7 separate regions of the Homo sapiens genome follow, and regions 2, 3, 4, 5, 6 and 7 are each linked to region 1. The links are contacts of gene promoters, found by promoter capture Hi-C in blood cells and fetal thymus (Javierre and others, 2016). All regions are on one chromosome and are shown on one strand. Each heading gives the region's core, a stretch centred on a gene start or on the middle of the fragment in contact. The rest is flanking DNA. Distances are from core to core; before and after follow the strand shown. Region 1 holds the start of MAP4K3 (mitogen-activated protein kinase kinase kinase kinase 3). Region 2 overlaps SOS1 (SOS Ras/Rac guanine nucleotide exchange factor 1). Region 3 has its middle 7.1 kb from the start of THUMPD2. Region 4 overlaps THUMPD2 (THUMP domain 2 tRNA and snRNA guanosine methyltransferase). Region 5 overlaps THUMPD2 (THUMP domain 2 tRNA and snRNA guanosine methyltransferase). Region 6 overlaps SOS1 (SOS Ras/Rac guanine nucleotide exchange factor 1). Region 7 has its middle 51 kb from the start of THUMPD2.

The links. The method cuts DNA at HindIII sites, captures the fragments that hold promoters and counts their contacts. A CHiCAGO score of 5 or more calls a contact.
Region 2: a fragment that was not itself captured here is called in contact with the fragment with the promoter of MAP4K3 in region 1 in 1 of 17 cell types (naive B cells); the score reaches 5.9 in naive B cells.
Region 3: a contact is called between a fragment that was not itself captured here and the fragment with the promoter of MAP4K3 in region 1, in 1 of 17 cell types (total B cells). The highest score is 5.0, in total B cells.
Region 4: a contact is called between a fragment that was not itself captured here and the fragment with the promoter of MAP4K3 in region 1, in 5 of 17 cell types (erythroblasts, naive B cells, total B cells and 2 more). The highest score is 8.1, in erythroblasts.
Region 5: a contact is called between a fragment that was not itself captured here and the fragment with the promoter of MAP4K3 in region 1, in 5 of 17 cell types (erythroblasts, total B cells, naive B cells and 2 more). The highest score is 7.8, in erythroblasts.
Region 6: a fragment that was not itself captured here is called in contact with the fragment with the promoter of MAP4K3 in region 1 in 1 of 17 cell types (total B cells); the score reaches 5.1 in total B cells.
Region 7: a contact is called between a fragment that was not itself captured here and the fragment with the promoter of MAP4K3 in region 1, in 8 of 17 cell types (M2 macrophages, naive B cells, total B cells and 5 more). The highest score is 15.7, in M2 macrophages.

Annotation. Positions count from the first base shown.
Region 1 is chr2:39,435,783-39,438,625 of GRCh38, reverse strand. MAP4K3 (mitogen-activated protein kinase kinase kinase kinase 3) reads left to right here and starts at 1,341. Exons shown (of 34, transcript NM_003618.4): 1 at 1,341-1,734. The coding sequence starts at 1,639. MAP4K3-DT (MAP4K3 divergent transcript) reads right to left here and starts at 1,210. Exons shown (of 6, transcript NR_037875.1): 1 at 1,091-1,210. RefSeq lists silencers at 1,088-1,307, 1,378-1,737 and an enhancer at 2,068-2,147. The HindIII fragment of the contact is 5,405 bases long and covers 365-2,843 here.
Region 2 is chr2:39,053,821-39,056,663 of GRCh38, reverse strand. SOS1 (SOS Ras/Rac guanine nucleotide exchange factor 1) reads left to right here. Exons shown (of 23, transcript NM_005633.4): 5 at 1,841-2,050. Among named protein-coding and RNA genes, the nearest start is that of SOS1, 66 kb to the left of the region's middle. The HindIII fragment of the contact is 924 bases long and covers 877-1,800 here.
Region 3 is chr2:39,784,955-39,787,797 of GRCh38, reverse strand. No RefSeq gene overlaps it. Among named protein-coding and RNA genes, the nearest start is that of THUMPD2, 7.1 kb to the right of the region's middle. The HindIII fragment of the contact is 5,862 bases long and covers 1-2,843 here.
Region 4 is chr2:39,766,601-39,769,443 of GRCh38, reverse strand. It overlaps THUMPD2 (THUMP domain 2 tRNA and snRNA guanosine methyltransferase), which reads left to right. Exons shown (of 10, transcript NM_025264.5): 4 at 943-1,020. Among named protein-coding and RNA genes, the nearest start is that of THUMPD2, 11 kb to the left of the region's middle. The HindIII fragment of the contact is 4,113 bases long and covers 1-2,843 here.
Region 5 is chr2:39,747,722-39,750,564 of GRCh38, reverse strand. The region is part of intron 8 of THUMPD2 (THUMP domain 2 tRNA and snRNA guanosine methyltransferase); the gene reads left to right. The region is part of intron 2 of LOC124905994 (a long non-coding RNA gene); the gene reads right to left. Among named protein-coding and RNA genes, the nearest start is that of THUMPD2, 30 kb to the left of the region's middle. The HindIII fragment of the contact is 3,634 bases long and covers 1-2,843 here.
Region 6 is chr2:39,116,326-39,119,168 of GRCh38, reverse strand. All of the region lies in intron 1 of SOS1 (SOS Ras/Rac guanine nucleotide exchange factor 1), which reads left to right. Among named protein-coding and RNA genes, the nearest start is that of SOS1, 3.3 kb to the left of the region's middle. The HindIII fragment of the contact is 3,710 bases long and covers 1-2,843 here.
Region 7 is chr2:39,726,952-39,729,794 of GRCh38, reverse strand. It overlaps a transcript of TMEM178A not described here. Among named protein-coding and RNA genes, the nearest start is that of THUMPD2, 51 kb to the left of the region's middle. The HindIII fragment of the contact is 4,148 bases long and covers 1-2,843 here.

The sequences.
Region 1 (2,843 bases), core at 92-2,591:
AGATACTCAAAGTAAACAATTTGAGAATTTAGTACATATGCAATTTTCCTATGAGCAAAAGGATTCAAAAGATTTTTTGAAAAAGTATGAAGCAGTTAACTCTAAGTAGTTTGCTCTACTATTAATTTATTATACTTATCCTTAACAGGTTTGATGAGACCTAGTTTCTCAGGAGCCACGAGGTATTAGGGAATATTAGTGGTTAGAAGGTGTGGTGCCTAAGGGGATTAGGAAAGCATTTCTGAAGCAAAACTCCAACGTGGTATTGCCAAAGTGGCCATCACCTAATTGATTAAAGCTCCTGCAAATGTCTATTGGGAAGTTCAATGAGAACAGAAAAATAACCTTCCATTACCCTCAAGCTTTCTTGGGCAAGTATTAACAATCGGAGCTGGAGTCCACATAGCTCAGATGTAAGACGCGCAATCTGGGTCTTAAGCAGGGTGGGGTTTTTGGGTAGGTAAGGTCACAGCTAAAGAGCTTCCGGATCGTCACGTGTTTATATTTCAGGTGCGGTAATAGATCTAGTCCACTCTCCACCCCTTCTTTACAGGGTTGCTTGACAGCCTGCGCAGTCCCCGCCCGTCTTTGATAATCCAACCCTCTTCGAAGAGGGAGGTCAATCACTGCTTTAGTTCTGCGCTCTGCCTGCCTCCCACGCGGGATGGTGGGCAGCTGTTCCGCGTGTTTTCCTCCCGGAGCTTTCACGCTCTGCCCACTGCACACACCTCCCTCGCGGCCCTCCTGGCCTGCCCTCCTTTGCACCCTGGCAGGCCAACTCCAAGGGTCCGAGTGTCGGTGACAGGGGCAAGCAAGCACAGCTCACTTTTCCTGGGGGTTTTCCTCACGGTGTGTTTAGTGACCCCTCCCCGCAATCCCAGAAAGGCTGCAGCACTCCATGGTATCCTACATGTAGCTGCTTCTAAAATAATAAAGGCTGGGACATTGGCTGTCTTGGATATTACCACTATGCTACCTGCTTGGAACTGGGACCAGATAGACCAAGGTCCAACTTTGTCGTTAGGGGAATCAGAAACGAAAAGAAGCCACTTTCTGCTAGTCCTAACCCCGGTCCCTGGGCCAGGCAAACCTTTTCAAGCGTCCGGCGGCAGCGGCCGGGCGCGGGTCCGCAGAAAAGCCGAGGCGTTTCGGGTCCCAAGCTGTTCCGCCGCCGGCCCCGGCCTGGCAGGCGCGCGGAGCCGGAACGCGCAAGGGGTCGGGTGCGCGCCAGGCCTGGCGCGCTCCCTCCGGGATCGCGGCTGCGCAGTCGGGCGGGAGTCGGGAAAAGGGGAGGAGGTTGGAGGAGCCGGAGTAAGGGGAGGGGGAGGAGCGGCGAAAGCGGAAGCCATGTTGGAGTTTCACCCCGAGCGAGGGGCTGCGAGGGTTCTCCTCTCCTTGTGGGTGTGACCAGGTTCGGCGCGGCGGCGGGCCGCGGGGGGCGGGGACGATTGGCCGCTTGTCGTCGTCCGCAGCGGCGTGAGGGGAGCGGCGGCGGCGGCGGCGGCCGCAGCGTGGAGCCGGGTGATTGTGACCGCCGGGGGAGCCGGGAGCCGGCCGCGGCGCCCTCTCTCCGTGTGGCCCCCTGAGCGGCCCCCCTCCCCTGCCCGGGAGGGAGGCGGGGGGCACCTGGGGCCCGCCATGAACCCCGGCTTCGATTTGTCCCGCCGGAACCCGCAGGAGGACTTCGAGCTGATTCAGCGCATCGGCAGCGGCACCTACGGCGACGTCTACAAGGTAAAGGCAGGGGCCGCGCGCCGCCGAGGCCGTGGGATCCCGACCCGCAGCCAAGCCTGGGCGTCCGAGCCCTTGCCGCCTGTCCTCGGGAGACGCTGGCGCCAGGGAGCAGTCGGGGAGGAGGAGCTGCGGACGCCAAGGGCTCTGCTGCCTTGGTGAACAAAGGGCCGAATGTTTAACCCCGAGACCTCCCCAGCCCTTACCTGAGCCCCCCCGGTGGACATGATTTTTGCCACCTCCCTTCTTGCGCGCATTTCCAGGGAAGGGCAGAACGAGAGCAGGCCACACTGCTCATCCATAGTGCAGAGAAGGTCTGGGCGTTTGTTGCGTTGGCAGGGTCAGCGCGACGAACCGGACAGCAGGGGTCTGGTGTTGTCAAACCTGCCTGCTTCACGCCAACCTGGGGTCGTCCGCTCTAGGTTGGGAGCTGCTGCCCACCAGGCCTCGGTGGTAGTTATTATACTATGCTGAGCGACCTCCATCTTCCATCGACAGCTCTCAGCCTTTAGCGCCTTATTCATCCCCCTGTCAGTTTCTTTTAATTTTCCAGAGTAATGACTTTTTTTTTTTTTTGGAAAGAGCAACTTTGTTTTCTCTAAGTCGAATTGGACTGCGATGCCATTTAAACTTGTTTTTTAAAAAGTGACTTGAATACTTAGGGAAGGTACTGGTTTGACAAGGTTAGAATTCAAAGTCCAGTAGCGGTACAGCATTCCTGTTGTAGAGGGACCACTTCTAAATGTGGGAAGATAAATCACTCTTCCCTGGCCAACTCAACTCTTGGCCTCACAGTTACTGCCAAGAAGAGAGGAGGTTGTTGCCAAATGTGGCAGCAGTCTTGATTTAGTTGTGTATCTTCTTACTGGTAACTGAAGTTGAACTCCTCCAGTTTCACATAACACCTGAGGATGCACAAAGAAACTTAATTTTGCATTGGAAAGTTCAGTCTTAACTTTATTTTGCCCATGTTTAAGCAGGTTTTTACTCTTCAGTGTAATGCCTGTGGTAACTTACATATTTAATACAGTGCAGCCAGTGTTCTGCTTTAGTCTGATTTTCTGGATGATCTACTTTTCACCATCGTGGATCTCATCACTTTTCCTACTATG
Region 2 (2,843 bases), core at 89-2,588, 380 kb after region 1:
TTTTTATGACTTATTAGATGCTAACGTACTATTCATATAGAATAAAATTGTATTATGTGTTGGGGAATATCTCCAGTAACCTAATAGTAGGGATTCAAGATACCACTTTATAGAAATAAGACATTAGATATATAATATTAAAATGTGTTTAAATATGTCATGCAGTTTTTTTCTTCTGTGCTGTTGCAACTAGGGTTAATTAGAGTAATCTCTTAATAGTTAATTTCTTTTCTTTTTTCTTTTTTTTGAGACGGAATCTCACTCTGTCGCCCAGGCTGGAGTGCAGTGGCACAGTCTTGGCTCACTGCAACCTCCGCCTCCTGGATTCAAGTGATTGTCCTGCCTCAGCCTCCTGAGTAGCTGGGATTACAGGCACACACCACCATGCCTAGCTAATTTTTTTGTATTTTTAGTAGAGACAGGGTTCCACCATGTTGGTCAGGCTGGTCTCGAACTCCTGACCGCCTTGGCCTCCCAAAGTGCTGGAATTACAGGCATGAGCCACCACACCCAGCTAGTAGTTAATTTCTTAAAATTTATTTGGATTGAAAGATTTGTAAGGTTACGGATTTACTTAAAAACAATTTTTCAAAATGTAAAACCACAAAACGATAGTTTTACTTCAGCACCTAGCTTTCTTCAGATACTACTTTGTGGTTTTACAATAATAATAATAAGAGCAAACACTTATTGAAGGTTAAGCATATATGTGGCTTATCTCCGTTGGTCCTTATGATATTCCTCTAAGGTAAGTGATCTTAGCTACATTTTATAAAAGGGAGACTGAAATTCACAGGGATAAAGAAATTGGTCCAGAATTTTCTGAGAAGTTTCAAAGCCTAGACTTGAACTCCAGGTCTCTCTGAGTCTAAAGCTTTTAGTCATTACCTAAGGATGTTCACTTTATGAAAACAACTTTGCAGAAAGGAAAATGTTTTCTGATGAAGCATTTCATTCCATTTTCCTCATTATACTCTTACTGATTTGGAATATTATTTCTGATTGCTGATTCCACTAAATTATGTTTTAGTATTTATTTGTTCTTTGAGAATGTGGCCATATAGAGTGAAAAAACCCACCTGATTTGAAGAAGAATTTCAAATGTTTGGGTATTTTTAACTGAAGACACGAATACGAAATACTTGATGCTTTTTAATGAATCAGATAAATAAAATATTTTTGAGTACCTACTACATGTTTACACAGAGAGGAGATGCAAGATAAGTATATATAAAACAAGGCTCCAGAGTTGATGAAGGTATACTTATATTCATGAAACAATCAGAAAGCACACAAGATAAAATAATATTTTATTGTGTTATAGAGATATGATGCTGTAGAAGTTCTCAAGAAGGGGAAAGATGTGTTGTAGCAAGAGTAGTAACAGTAGACTTCTTGCAGAAAATAATAGCTTATTTTGACCTATTCCCAACAAATGTAGGAAAATCGGCCGAATAGACAGCTATAAACATTTAAATATGAGATACTGAGGCCATGGAATAAAGTGATGATGGCAGGGTATAAAACAGAGAAAACCAAGTCAGGGAAATTAAAGACAGGATCTGGAAACAAATTGGAAGTAATAGGTTAACAAGAGAGACAGACAGATAAATACTAGTAGTGATAGAGAACTTGGAGGAGTGTAGTAAGTTATATCACATGTTGAATTCTGTTTTAGAGAAGCTGTGGAGGGATGCTGGCAATATATCCAAGAAGAGAAATTTGTTTGTCTGCTTTTTTATCATTTAAGAACTTTATTCAGAGAACTTAGAGCATTTCACATCAAATTCTACGAAAGCTTCATATTTTATTATACTTTTTTATATCTCTGACTGTATAGGTATTGATGGATATGTTTCATCAAGATGTAGAAGATATTAATATATTATCTTTAACTGACGAAGAGCCTTCCACCTCAGGAGAACAAACTTACTATGATTTGGTAAAAGCATTTATGGCAGAAATTCGACAATATATAAGGGAACTAAATCTAATTATAAAAGTTTTTAGAGAGCCCTTTGTCTCCAATTCAAAATTGTTTTCAGCTAATGTAAGTATCATTGTATATATGCCTCTCATTGAATGTGTTGTGAAATTTGCATGACCACTTCAAATTTGAAGTTGTACAGTTCATCATTACTAATTTGTTAATTTTTTTAAGTTGTGGGACTTAATTCATGATCACAAAGTTTTACAACAGTTTCAAGAGATTTAACATTAGAAATTAAGAGACAAAATACAAAGTAGACTGATTATGTAAGTGAAAATGAATTCACAGAATTCTCCATGTACTCCAAAGGATAAAGCTTCTTGTTTAGGTGGAAGATATGTTTGTTTGAGTCATTTGAATCATTCAACCTACACTTCATCAATGCCAACTGTATTGTCAGGTACCATGCTTGGCAGCAGGGATTCAAAGATGAATAAGAAACAGTTCTGCTGGGCACGGTGGCTCACGCCTGTAATCCCAGCACTTTGGGAGGCCGAGGCGGGCAGATCACGAGGTCAGGAGATGGAGACCATCCTGGCTAACACGGTGAAACCCCATCTCTACTAAAAATACAAAAAATTAGCCGGGCGTGGTGGCGAGCGTCTGTAATCCCAGCTACTCGGGAGGCTGAGGCAGGAGAATGGCGTGAACCTGGGAGGCGGAGCTTGCAGTGAGCCGAGATCGCGCCACTGCACTCCAGCCTGGGCGACAGAGCGAGACTCCGTCTCAGAAGAAAAAAAAAAAAAGAGTTCCTTTCCTTAAGTTTAGTCTAGTCAAGACAGAGATATAAACTATAAATTGCAATAAAATATGGTAATTACCATATTAGAAGTATGACAGCAGTAGTATTGGG
Region 3 (2,843 bases), core at 111-2,610, 350 kb before region 1:
AAGACACAATCACATACATCAGCCTAGACCTACACAGTGTCAGGATCATCAAAGTCACTGTCTTTCACCTCCTTATCTCTACCCACTGGGAGGTATTCAGGGGCAATAACACACACAGAGCAGTCATCTTCTATGATAATCTCTTCTTCTAGAATACCTGCTAAAGGACCCATCTGAGGCTGTTTTACAGTTAACTTTTTCTTTATAAGCAGAAGCAGTATACTCTAAAATAATGATTTAAAAATACAGCATAATAAATACATATGCCAGTAACATAGTCATTTATTATCATTATCAAATATTATGTACTGTACATAATTGTATGGGCTATACTTCTTTATGACTGGCAATGCAGTCTGTGTAGGTTTGTTTATACCTGCATAATATCATAGCACAACACGTTACTCATATGTTTGTAACATGTTGTAACAAACATATGAGTGATATGAGTGACATGTTGTGCTATGAAGTTATGACAGCTATGATGTCATTAGGCAATAGGGATTTTTCAGCTCCATAATGATCTCACAGTACCACCATCATATATGCAGTTGATCATTGACCAAAACATCTTTATGCAGTACATGACTCTGCTTGACATAACTGGGCTATACAATTAAAACATATGGATGTCAAATATATCTGAGATTGTTTGGATTAACAATAATTTCCAATATTTGTTATAGACTTCTGTGTCTTAGGACTTTATTTACTAGATGATGCTCAGTAGCAAAGTTGTCTTCCAGGAAATCCATCTTTCCAAAACCGTAGCGGGCTGTGCTCAACCCACAGACAAGAAGCCTTGGGGTTTTGTAACAGCACTTCTCTCCCTCCCAGTACACACACTCTTTCACAAATTTAGGAAGTCGTTATTTAAAGAAGCTCACCACCACTGTTAAAAAGAAAGCTGCCAACTTAAGAGTGTGTGTGCCCAGCCCAAAAACTCTGGAAAACCTACACTGTAACCTGCATCTAACGTAGACAGCCAATACAACATTCAACGCAATCTACGTACAATGTCCAGATAACAGATTCAATCAATTCTGATTAACACAATTAATCAATGTGCTAGTACAAAATATTTTTTTTTTGAGATGGAGTCTCACTCTGTTGCCCAGGCTGGAGTGCAGTGGAGAGATCTAGGCTCACTGCAGCCTCCACCTCCCGGGTTCAAGCAATTCTGTCTCAGCTTCCTGAGTAGGTGGGATTATAGGCATGCACTACAATGCCCCACTAATTTTTGTATCTTTAGTAGAGACTGGGTTTTACCACGTTGGCCAGGCTAGTCTCGAACTCCTGACCTCAGGTGATCCACACGCCTCAGCCTCCCAAAGTGCTGGAAAACCTATAAGAAATCACAAAATATAAAATTGAGACTATAAGGCCCAACCCCTGATTATAATCCCCATTAATTAACCTGCCCTGAGTTGGCCCAAGATTGCATTGTCCACACCTATCAACAATAAGTAATAAGCACTTAAGCATTAGAGGTTTGATTTATAGAAAATCTATTGTCAGTGAGGAATAAATTCAGCCAAACTCAGATGTCAACTGGATTATCTTGATTTAAAATTGGTTTGCACCCGCATTCTATGGCAATGATGACCCAGCACCCCTCTCTGTGCATTCCCTGATGACAGACCACATGCTTAGGTGCCCCTTACCAGCCTGTGCTCTGACTTCCTGCTTCTCCTGAATGTACTCCATTGAAAGACCTCCACAACCCATGCAGAGGATGCCACTCCTTTTCCTTATCACAGCACCTTACTTTGAGTGCATCACCCTGGTACTTTCACTCCTACTATTTGAAGCAAATGGCTGTGTTTTGTTTGTTTATTTTACTGAAAGTTTGGACCACTAAAGATGGTTTAACCTGGCAGTGCCAGAAACAAATTTGAGCACTGAACATCCTTCTTAGAAGTTCTCAGCCAACACCCCACAGCGAGTCTCTTACGGCCAGCTCATCCTCACTGGTCTCAGCTTTGCACGATGCTGTTCCACAGGTTCCCCATTATCTGATCTTTCCCCCCCGTTAGGGTATTTCCTACCTCCTTTTGACTTCTTACGCAGAACAGTTTAATTATCTCTGTATTTCTCTGTTTATGACTTCAGAGCCTCACTAAACTCCATCAAAAAATTTTCGTAAACAGACTATTTTGTACCTAAGATGAATTCCAGGACCAGCTTTTAAAATTATTTTTCTTAACCTGGCTACATTTCGATTTCGAAGTTTATGAGACAGAAGTTCCATATCATCTAAACTGATCAGAGAGACAGAGCACCAAAGCCATACATAGTGATTGAAGGTGCAAATATTGTTACCTGTCTGTGATCTGAAAGCTCAACTGGCATCAAATAATTTCAGGCATTATGTCTTATTTCAAAGATGTTTTACGAGAGAATGAAATGATTGCCTAAGCCAGTGCTTCAGGTTGTATGCTTTTGTTTTGTATCTGTATTGTTTTTCTGTTTAGCCAAGTAATTCATACTCATTGCAAAAATTGTAACATTAAATATGAATATAAATAGTAAATTTTTAATTATTAGATTTCAGACTTTTTAAAAGAAAATCATTAGAGGATAGGCCTGATTATGTGTAGATATAACAGAGAACACTTTTTCAACGGTGCTAAAATCCATTTTTCAAAATCATGCAAGATATCCATGGGCAGCAAGTAATTATCACTCTTCAACAAAAAGAAAAATATAAAAAGACAAATATGTAATAAGTAAGTCTGCTTGTTCCATAGTCTACTCTTCCTTCATGCCAACGACAGGAGCAATACTGACTGAATAAAGCCAATGTTCTAATAAACTCTTCAGATTTTATTCTGCCAAATACC
Region 4 (2,843 bases), core at 98-2,597, 330 kb before region 1:
AGGCGGGAGCCACCATGCCTGGCCTGGGGGTCCCATTTTTTAAAGAATTAATTATTCTTTAGATTTAAAATGAGATGCAAACCTCTCACAGAACAAATAACTAGCCGCAGACAATTAGTTCTTATGGAATTAAATGTCTTTAAAACTACATTTTCCTTTTAATTTTTCCTCAGATGTTTAAGAGGAATGGTATGCCATTCCAAGTAATGACTTTCTTATACTTTCTGCCTAAAAATTTCCTTAAATCTACAGATGTCCTTTGTATTTGGAAATCCTGATACCATAGTCCTCAGCTTTTGGGGTTTCTCTTCAGTTCAGCTTTGTGCTTATTCAGTGGCTACTCTGCACAGGTCCTGTACATGGGATTGTCACCAGGACCTAGACTGCAAATGCACATGAGGTCTCAGCAATGTAGAGAAGAGCGAACACCACAAACTGTTGCCATCACCAGACCTCATCAGTTGGCCCTTACAAAGTTCAGTGATGTTAAAGGCCATTGGTCTGAATACTTTATCAACCTTAAAATCAGTCAAACCCTAAAGGGTGAGTCTAATGATACTAATCTGATAATTTTTAAACACATAGGCTTATAGTAGCTGACATAGTTAATCTTTCAGCTTGCATCTATTTCCTGAAACCCAGAATGATCATATTTATCAGGTCATAATCTAGTTATTTCATATACCTAAAATTACAAGGATAGAGATTATGCATGAGTAGACATTAATGCCATGGGGTGTACTGGGGGCTAGGGCAGGTAAAATACAGCCTTACTGCCTTGAATAGGAAATGCTTTCATGTACAATTTTAATATCAGAACTCTAAATTACCATCAGATAGCCTGACTTGATTTTCTTATAGGCTACTCTGTTAGTTTTGCTGACATTTAAACTTAAAATTTTCATTTTTAGTATTCTTTTCTTTAACTTGGTACTTTTCCAGGAGGTAGGAAAAGTAATTGGAATTGCTATTATGAAACACTTTGGATGGAAAGCAGACTTGAGGAATCCACAATTAGAGGTAATGAGTATTTGTTTTATTTTATATACTTGTAACCTAATTCTTTAAAGACAGTGTCCTGTATTCTTATCATACTTTTCCGTTTTATTTTACAGTTATAAAAAGTGTATCTACAGGGATCCAACAGTCCATTTTATCTTTAGCAGTAGAATAGTACAGATAGTTTTGCTAGCAGTTTTCACTGAGAAAATGTCTTATGCAAACTCCAAAAAAAGATTTTTTGGAATGGAGTTGTCTGGTCACAGTTGAAGAAAAAAACATTTATTATGAGGTTACAGCGATGTTCTCTATAGTCTCTATAATACACACAATCTGTGATTTTAAAAATTTTAGCTAATATTAAAAAAATGGATAACAACAAAGTCCTACACAAAATTCAATAGTATGTTAATAGTGGCTTTGTTATGGGTATGGGATTATGTTTTTATTTTCCAAAATTAATAAGGTTACAGTATTTTTATTTGGAACAAACAAGTATTTGTATGGGGAAACAAAAAATATTCTTTGCTATTTTTTGAAAGCCATCTTATAAAGTTGACGTATAACCAATCATTTTCATGATTCATTAATTCATAAATTTATTTATTACTTGTTATGTAGGTTTAAATGGAGTAATAACTGGCCAAATAAATCAGAACATTGTGTGTTGTTTTATTTTTAGATTTGCGCTTGTCTGACATTTGTCACTTTAAAAAAATAATACCTGGTATATATTTTTTATTGTTTGTCATACTAAATGTTTTGATCCCAAGAATGTTTTGACATACGAGTATCATTCTCTTATCTGCCCCTTTCCAATTCTTTTTTTTTTTTTTTTTTTGAGACGGAGTCTCGCTCTGTCGCCCAGGCTGGAGTGCAGTGGCGGGATCTCGGCTCACTGCAAGCTCCGCCTCCCGGGTTCACGCCATTCTCCTGCCTCAGCCTCCCAAGTAGCTGGGACTACAGGCGCCCGCCACTACGCCCGGCTAATTTTTTGTATTTTTAGTAGAGACGGGGTTTCACCGTTTTAGCCGGGATGGTCTCGATCTCCTGACCTCGTGATCCGCCCGCCTCGGCCTCCCAAAGTGCTGGGATTACAGGCGTGAGCCACCGCGCCCGGCCCCCTTTCCAATTCTTAATCATCTTCTCTCTGGCTTTCTCGTCCCCATCTCCCTGAGTCCATCTCATTGTCTCAGAATTGTTTTTCTCATAGATTATCTCATAAATAAATATAGCAAATTCAATTCCTATCAGCCATTTAATGCAATTAATAATAGCTATTATGGATACAAATAATTAACACAAAATTGGCAACACAAAAATCACACGTAGTAAAATTTGTGACTAAAAAATTGACAGAGGAATCAAATCTCAACAAATTTCCTTCTGCAAAATTGATAGGAAAACATTTATAGTGGGAGAGGCTATTCTTAATAACATTTGATATATGAACATGTCGTATCTTTAGAATAAATTGTCAATAGAAAACAATTCTAATAAATAGTTTTGCTAAAATGCATAATATGTAAAATTGGGAAGTTTAGCTGTGATGTATCAGTTAATCAGGTAATTAAATTGACCAAATGGAATCACTCCAGGTAAGTCTTTTCTTGATGAAATTGATCAATATTGGAATAATTCTGATTAAGCTGTTAATATTTAAAGTTATCTTGGGGTGCGAGTATCAGGGACCAGATATTCTTGAGGTTCATAACAGCATTTAAAATATTCTGTAAACCTTATCAGGCTACAAAAGTAAGATTCTAGCTTTTAAAATTTATGTTGGCTACTAATTATAATGTGGGGCGCTTAAATACTCTTCATGGCCTAACAGAAGAAAGAAA
Region 5 (2,843 bases), core at 122-2,621, 310 kb before region 1:
CAGCTAATTTTTATATTTTTAGTAAAGACAAGGTTTCGCCATGTTGCCCAGGCTGGTCGCAAACTCCTGAGCTCAGGCAATCCACCCGCCTTGGCCTAACAAATTTATAAGAAAAAAACAACCCCATTAAAAAGTGAGCAAAAGACATGAGCAGATACTTCTCAAAAGAAGACATTCATATGGCCAACTAACATACAAAGAAAAGCTCAACATCACTGATCATTAGAGAAATGCGAATCAAAACCACAATGGGAAACCATCTCATGCCAGTCAGAATGGCGATTATTAAAAAGTCCAGAAACAACAGATGGTGGTGAGGTTGTGGATAAAAGGGAACGCCTTTACACCGTTGGTGGGAGTGTAAATGACTTCAACCGTTGGGAAGACAGTGTGGTGATTCCTCAAAGATCCGGAGGCAGAAATACCATTTGACCCAGCAATTCCATTACAGTGCATATATCCAAAGGAATGTAAATCATTCTAGAATAAAGATACATGCACACATATGTTCACTTGAGCACTATTCATGATAGCAAAGACACAGAGTCAACCCAAATGCCCATCAGTGACAGACTGGATAAAGAAAATATAGTACATATATACCGTAAAATACTGTGTAAACATAAAAAGGAACAAGATAATGTCCTTTGCAGGGACATGGATGGTGCTTGAAGCTGTTATCCTCAGCAAACTAACGCAGGAACAGAAAACCAAACACTGCATGTTTTCACTTATAAGTGGGAGCTAAACGATGAGAACACGTGGTTGGGGGACAACACACACAGGGGTCTGTCAGGGGGAGGTGGGAGGGGAGGGAGAGCATTAGGAAGAATAGCTAATGGATGCTGGTCTTATTACCAAGGTGGTGGGTTGATCTGTAGCAAACCACCACGGTACACACATTATGTAGCAAACCCATACATCCTGCACATATACCCTGGAACTTAAAAGTTGAAGGAAAAAAAATAAAAACTTAGTAATTCTAAGAATGCTAGGCCCAAAGCCAACAATTTATCACATGCAACTGAAGAAAATGCATTTAAAATATCACTCTGTGAAGTATGACTTTCCCTTTAGATCAAATGGCTATTCTAAATTTATTTTGCTCATATTCAATTGTGAGTTTTGTTATGCACCTAAGCAAAATGAAGCTGGTACTGTTAATGTGCTGGCTTCATTAGCAGAAGACCTTTGCAGATAGTTAAATGTTGCCAGTTTTGTATCAATATCATCACATAATTTAGAAAGATAATCAGTTAAGTCAATTCCAGTAGTAGCTTTGTTTCTTTTTTACTCTCTTCGAAATTTCATAGGGTTTTTTTCTGTCAAAGATGCAACTTCTTTGTGAATGCTACTGTGAATTCAGTTTGGCATTGCCAATCTGTGTGCTTATGCATTACTTTGGTGGGCCACAACATCATGCTAAAAATTAATATTCTTATTAAAACCTATGGAGCAGAAATGCACTTGAAATTTAATGTTATACCCATATAATTCATAATTACCTCCAAACAGGCTGTAGTGTCCATTGAAACAGACACTTGTCAAAATAATTGAATTTTGTTTTGTTTTTTTTTTTAAGAGAGAGACTTGCTCTGTCACCCAGGCTAGAGTGTAGTGGTCTGATAATAGCTTACTGCAGCCTTGAACGAACTCCTGGGCTCAAGCAGTCCTCCCATCTCAGCTTCCCAAGTAGCTAGGACTGTAGGAGGTACTCACCACCATGCCTGGCTAATTTTCTTTTTTAAAAAAATAGAGATGGGGTCTCACTGTATTGCCCAGGTTGGTCTTAAATGATCCTCCCAGCTCAGCCTCCCGGAGTGCTGGGATTACAGGTGTGAGCCACCCCATACCTGGCCACTTTTTTTGTTTTTTTTTGAGACAGACTCTCACTCTGTCGCCAGGCTGGAGTGCAGTGGCGCAATTTCGGCTCACTGCAACCTCCGCCTCCTGGGTTCAAGCAATTCTCCCGCTTCAGCCTCCTGAGTAGCTGGGACTACAGGCGCATGCTACCACGCCCAGCTAATTTTTGTATGGGGTTTCACCATGTTGGCCAGGATGGTCTCAATCTCTTGACCTCATGATCCACCTGCCTTGGCCTCCCAAAGTGCTGGGATTACAGGCGTGAACCACCGTACCCGGCCTTCTTTTTAAAATATACACAGAACAGATGAACTGCAAACTATTTGTGTTGAAGATGACTGAATGCAAAAAAAATGCTTCTGCATAACAGTACACTTTCTTTGCTTGTCCATCAGTTGGGTTTTAAAGTGTAAGCCTTCAAAGAATTACTCTGTAAATCAGCCAAAGTGTCCTAGGGTGGTGCTATAAACTTTACCAAAAAAAAGTTGCCTAATTTTGATGGCATTTTATTCAGAATATACTGGAAATCTATAATCAAAGGATTCAACAAATGAAGTGCCAAAATACATTAGCTTTTGAATTTTTTGGTGAATTACAGTTGTTAAAGCTGGCAGCAGGAAGACATTGATCATCTTTCCCTAAAAACACGAAGAAATGAACAAATATTGAAAGCTCAACAATGCACAAGACTTAATTATGAAATTCTATAAATATTCTTTGGATATGGTATGGAAAGAATCTCCTGATGACTTTCCTTATTGTAATTGGATAAATTTGTAGTCTAGAATGGAATGGAATGAAATTGTGAAGGCCTTAATTTTGTATCATCTAAATTTGGTAAAACAATTAAAAGAATAATAGAGATAATTTGAGTTTTGTAAACATATTTGTCAAAGGCACTGTCAATGGAGGGACTGTGAACTGGAAGGCTGAAATATTTACCCTTTCCATATGAAAAAATAGAACTGAAAGTATATTTC
Region 6 (2,843 bases), core at 182-2,681, 320 kb after region 1:
TACTCCTTAGAAATCCCTTCAGGCTCTCACTCCTTACTTTTGCTTTACTTGCAAGTTTGACTTCTTAGCTTGTAATGGAAGGGGTGTAGGAGGTCTCTGTGATGCTAGAAGCTGGTGTCCGGATAGAGTAAGGGGAGACACGGAAATTGTTTAAAAACGTGTAAAGGAACTCATAAAGCATTGCCAAATAGGGGCCATTTTGCTTAGAGGCAAAAGCAGCTCCTTTCCCAGGGGAATCACCAAGGTATCAGCTGAGGATCCTTTGAAGCAGTGGAAAGAATATTGTAGGAGTTGACAGACGTTGTTTAATTCTGCCACACTGGTGGCCCTTGCTGAAATCTGTCCACAAAAGCATTTTGTTTGGCTGGCATAGTGTTGTTTTATTTTTAAATGTAATTAGTTGCTAATATTTGAAAATGGGAGATATTACATAAAACCTGAATTTTCGGCTTTTCTTGAAGAATAGGAAGGTCTTGTCATTTAGGGCCTGTATTCAAGCGAGGCACTAAACTGCTGGAGTTGAGTAAATGGCTCCCTTCTTTAGACAGGTCATGTATCTCCACCTTACCACAGCCCCCACTTGTCCTTTTTGCATATTTACATAAAACAGCTTTTGACTTTAAGTTAGAGATACTTTTGCAGTAGAAGTGATAGGAGGAGGTGGAAGTGTACATAATCTAGCTGATATGTAAGGTTCTTCCAATTCTTATTTAAATAGCCACTAACAATGATTCTAAACAAGATTGAAAATACAGTATGTTTCATATCTGGATATGCTGTTGGTAGCTCAAAACCTACGTTTTTACTTGCCTGCTGGACATTTCATGTGGATATCTCCATATCTTGATTTCTTCCTTTGATTTGTTATTGAATTATTCGTAGATACATCCGACTTGTGTTCTCTTACTCTTACCTGAGGCTCTTTGGATATGCTAGTCCCTTCATCCTTCTTTGCCTGGTCCAACACTACTCATCCTTCTAGACTCACTCAACCTGAACTGTCAAATCATCAGGGCTGAGTTGGATATTACTCCTTTGTTTTCTTTTTGCACCCTGTCCTAGCTCTGTGAATTTTAAGTTCCTATTTACTTGCCTATAACTAGATTGGATGCTCCTTGAGAACAGGGATGATATCTTACCCACATTTTATTCCCCATACTTATAGTGCTTGACATCTGGTAGGCACTCAATTTGAATAAATAGGTGAGGGGATATACAAACTAAAACTATCACTTCTCTCCTCCACCTGTCATTTCAGTTTTTCTTCTCGATTAATGGCTTTATTGTTACATTTGACTGGTTTAAAATGTTGGGGTCATCTCTGGCTTCTTTGTATTACTGTGCACACTCAGGTAGAGCCTGTATGTTCATTTCCCTTTGACATGTTCTTCTAGTCTATTCCTCCTCCGACTTCTCTAATTGAGTCTCCTTTGTCAGACTACTGTGATAACTTCTTAATGGGGTTCACTGGCCCCCACCTCACCTTCTGTTTTTCAAATCTCACCAGTTATAGGACACTTCTGAACATGTCACACTCAGAATTGTTGATGTCTTTTGAGTTCAACCTATGCTAAAGTGCACTTTTTAGCATAGAATTAACAGCAATTGATATTTGGCTTCATCCTGCTTTTCTGACTGGATTGTCTACCATAACCTTTTATCTCCTTTTTGCTTTAGCCAGTCCGGACTGCTACTTTTCCTGAATATGGCTGGAATGTCCCACTGTATCTGTTTCACCGCATCTATGAGTCTAAGTCCTATCTTATCTATTGCACAAATATATCATGCCTACTATAGACCAGGTATTGCCCTTGACACTCAGGCTAAAAAGGTAAATGACAGGGCCGGGCGCAGTGGCTCACGCCTGTAATCCAGCACTTTGGGAGAGCAAGGTGGGCGGATCACGAGGTCAGGAATTCAAGACCAGCCTGGCCAACGTGGTGAAACCCCATCTCTACTAAAAAATACAAAAATTAGCCTGGCGTGGTGGTGGGCACCTGTAATCCCAGCTACTCGGGAGGCTGAGGCAGGAGAATAGCTTGAAACCGGAAGACGGAGGTTGCAGTGGGGCGAGATTGCACCACTGCACTCCAACCTGGGCAACAAGAGCAAAACTCTGTCTCAAAAAAAAAAAAAAAAAGTAAATGACATAATCAGAAAAGACTAAATTAGAACATGATGGGAAGTGGCAGGGCATGTCTGGAGAGACAACTGGTTTATGAACAGTTTTTATATATGTTAAGCTAAGGAATTTAAATTTTTTCTTGGGTAATTAGAAGCCATTGATAAAGTTTCTTTTGTTTGTTTTTGTTTTGTTTGTTTGTTTTGAGACAGAGTCTTAACAGGCTGGAGTGCAGTGGTGCGATCTTGGCTCACTGCAGCCTCCACCTCCTGGGCTTAAGCTATCCTCCCACCTCAGCCTCCTGAGACTGTAGGCACACTGCCACATCCAGATAATTTTTGTATTTTTTGTAGAGATGGGGTTTCACCAGGCTGGTCTTGAACTCCTGGGCTCAAGCCATCTGCCTGCCTCAGCTTCCCAAAGTGCTAGGATTACAGGGTGAGCCACTGTGCCCAGCCAATAAGTTTTAAGTAGGGGAGTAACAGCACATTTTAATTTTAGAAAATTCACTTTGGCCATAGAATGGAAAATGGTTTGGAGAAGAATGAGACGTAAAGTGAGGAGAAAAGTTAGAAGCCTAGTTTAATAGTCCAGTCAAGAGATAATACACATTTGAACTAAGGGTGCATTTGAACAAGGATGGAAATATGGATGTGGATTTTATTTGAAAGAAGTTTACAAGGCAAAATTGACAGGATCTAGTAACTCACTGAGTGATTGG
Region 7 (2,843 bases), core at 93-2,592, 290 kb before region 1:
ACCAGCTCCTGTCTCCCATTGGTCAAGAGTAGGATGACTTTCAACTCCCTCCCAATTTAAGACTTCCATCGCATAGTTTAAACCCTAACTTACAGAATATCAGATGGAACTAGAGGAGGAATGGAAGCCACCCAGAAATCATGTTCTTGACATGGATGTGTTACCCTTGTCAGAAGGGGAGAGGATGAGCAGGTTTTTCTGTCAAGTATAATTGCATATTTTACATGCGAATATTGGTTGGTTGGAGGAAGTTTAAATATCAAATTAAGAACAGATATTGATGTTGGGCATCCAAAGGGTACATCAAAGTGGTGAATTATCGTATTTTCCAATGTTTGAGTCCCACCTCTCCAAGGCAGAAACCAGAACACCAGCTTTTCCGACCTATATTATAGGTAGAATGGGGGCCAGACACTGACATATGATAATTGGATTCAGATGTGAGCTATGCGGAGGAACCAGGCACCATGGAATCCACTTTCTGGGGGAGAGGCAGCAGAAGCATCTGGCCTCAGGGGCTAGCTGGGGTAGAGGACAGCATTCAGCGTTCAATATCCATGGTGCAAGCTATGGTGTGGATCCCCGGCAGGGGTGGCAGTGAATCTTTGAAACTACCATCTTGTTGTATGGTTTGGATGGTGTTCCTGGTTGTGTAGTCCCCTAGATTAATTTTCTGGCCCTATTGAGCATTCTAATTTTTTTTTAATGAATTCCTTTTCTGCCGAACAACCTAGAGTTATTCTGTTGATTGCAGCTGGGGGCGCTGTGCCACACACCAAGGTTACTGAAGCACTCTCCTGCCCTGCAGGCTCTGCACATCTCATTCTCAGTGGAGTCCCTCCAAATGTTTTGCATTTTTTCTGTTACCATATTTTCTAGTTGTCTATTTTATCAGTATTTGGCACCCCTCTCCAAAATCATTTTTAATGTTTTGGCCTCCCAAAGATTTTGAATAATACAGTCTTTGTCATCATCTGCCTAAGCCTTACATACATCTTTAGGAGAAAAGAAAAAACGTGTAGGGGTGGACTCTGTGACCAAAATGCAACAAACGATGGGTTAAAAAAAAAAAATTCATTTCTTGACTTGAAGTGAGTGACAGTGATGTAGATCGTAAGAGGTAGCAGTACTAATGATCTCGGTGTACTTTGCAGAATTAAATCATGATTTTAGTCTCTGCTAAAATATCTTTAATATTAAATGCATACAACTATAAAGTTTTTGAAAATTTATGAAAATTTGAGGATGTCAAATAAATGGAGTACTATTTTATAGCATTTTTTCCTCCTCCAGAATAGGGTACAGAGTGTGGCCCAGAAAAGAACAATTAATATTTTTTGAACTAAATTGAACTAGCTCCTGGTAGGAGAGAATAAATAAATGCCTGTAGATCTGAGAACAGTGAATCAAAGGGACACTCGGAAACCATTCAAGAAGCAGACAGCTGTCCAGGGAGACACCGACTTCCTGTGTAACCTAGAAAGCTAAGTCTCAGAGAAATGCAAATCAAAACCACAATGAGATACCATCTCACGCCAGTTAGAATGGCAATCATTAAAAAGTCAGGAAACAGATTCTGGAGAGGATGTGGAGAAATAGGAATGCTTTTACACTGTTGGTGGGAGTGTAAATTGGTTCATCCACTGTGGAAGTCAGTGTGGCGATTCCTGGAGGATCTAGAACTAGAATTACCATTTGACCCAGCAATCCCATTACTGGGTACATACCCAAAGGATTATAAATCATGCTACTATAAAGACACATGCACACATATGTTTATTGTGGCATTATTCACAATAGCAAAGACTTGGAACCAACCCAAATGTCCATCAATGATAGACTGGATTAAGAAAATGTGGCACATATACACCATGGAATACTATGCTGCCATAAAAAAGGATGAGTTCATGTCCTTTGCAGGGACATGGATGAAGCTGGAAACCATCATTCTCAGCAAACTGTCACAGGGACAGAAAACCAAACACCTCATGTTCTCAGAGATGAGAAATGAACAGTTAGATCACTTGGACACAGGGTGGGGAACATCACACACCGGGGCCTGTCGAGGGGTGGGGGGCTGGGGGAGGGATAGCATTAGGAGAATTACCTAATGCAAATGATGAGTTGATGGGTGCAGCAAACCAACATGGCACATGTATACCTACGTAACGAACCTGCACATTGTGCACATGTACCCTAGAACTTAAAGTATAATTAAAAAATAAAAAAGCTAAGTCTCAGGGATTCAAAATAAACTGAGGTTTGAGAAGAAATGCTCACTTAGATATTAAGTAAATGTGTCGGTTCAGAGAGCTATGCAAGAAAGCCCTTGGACTAAAATTAGGTGAGATGCAAAGTCTTAGAGAAATCTTGCTAATTAAGAAATCCAGGTGAGTTTTTTTAGTGCATGTTCATATTTTGCCATAGTGTTAGTAGCCTTTTCAAATCTTGTTATTTATTCATTTGTTCATTTGCTTCTTTATTTACTTAGCTACCAGGCAGTTAGTGAGTACTTGCTCCATGTCAGGTTCTGGGAATGCTCCTTGGTAAACTGGCCCTGCCTGAATGGCTGCTGTGACAGCTATCTGAAAGGGATGTGAGCAGGAGCAAGAGGATACCAGCCAGAAGTCCGGGCTTCTGAGATAGAGGAATATCCTTGACCTTTGGAAATGGAGGGATGAAACCACTCTCTGGAACACCTCGGCAGAGAGAAAAATGAGCTGAGTCGAGGAAAACATTTGAGAGAAAAATTATGGATTGTTGGAAATTTAAAGAAACAACTCAAAACGTGCATGAAGAGCTCAGCTTTTTATCTTAAATTCCATGAATTATGTTCAAGAGAG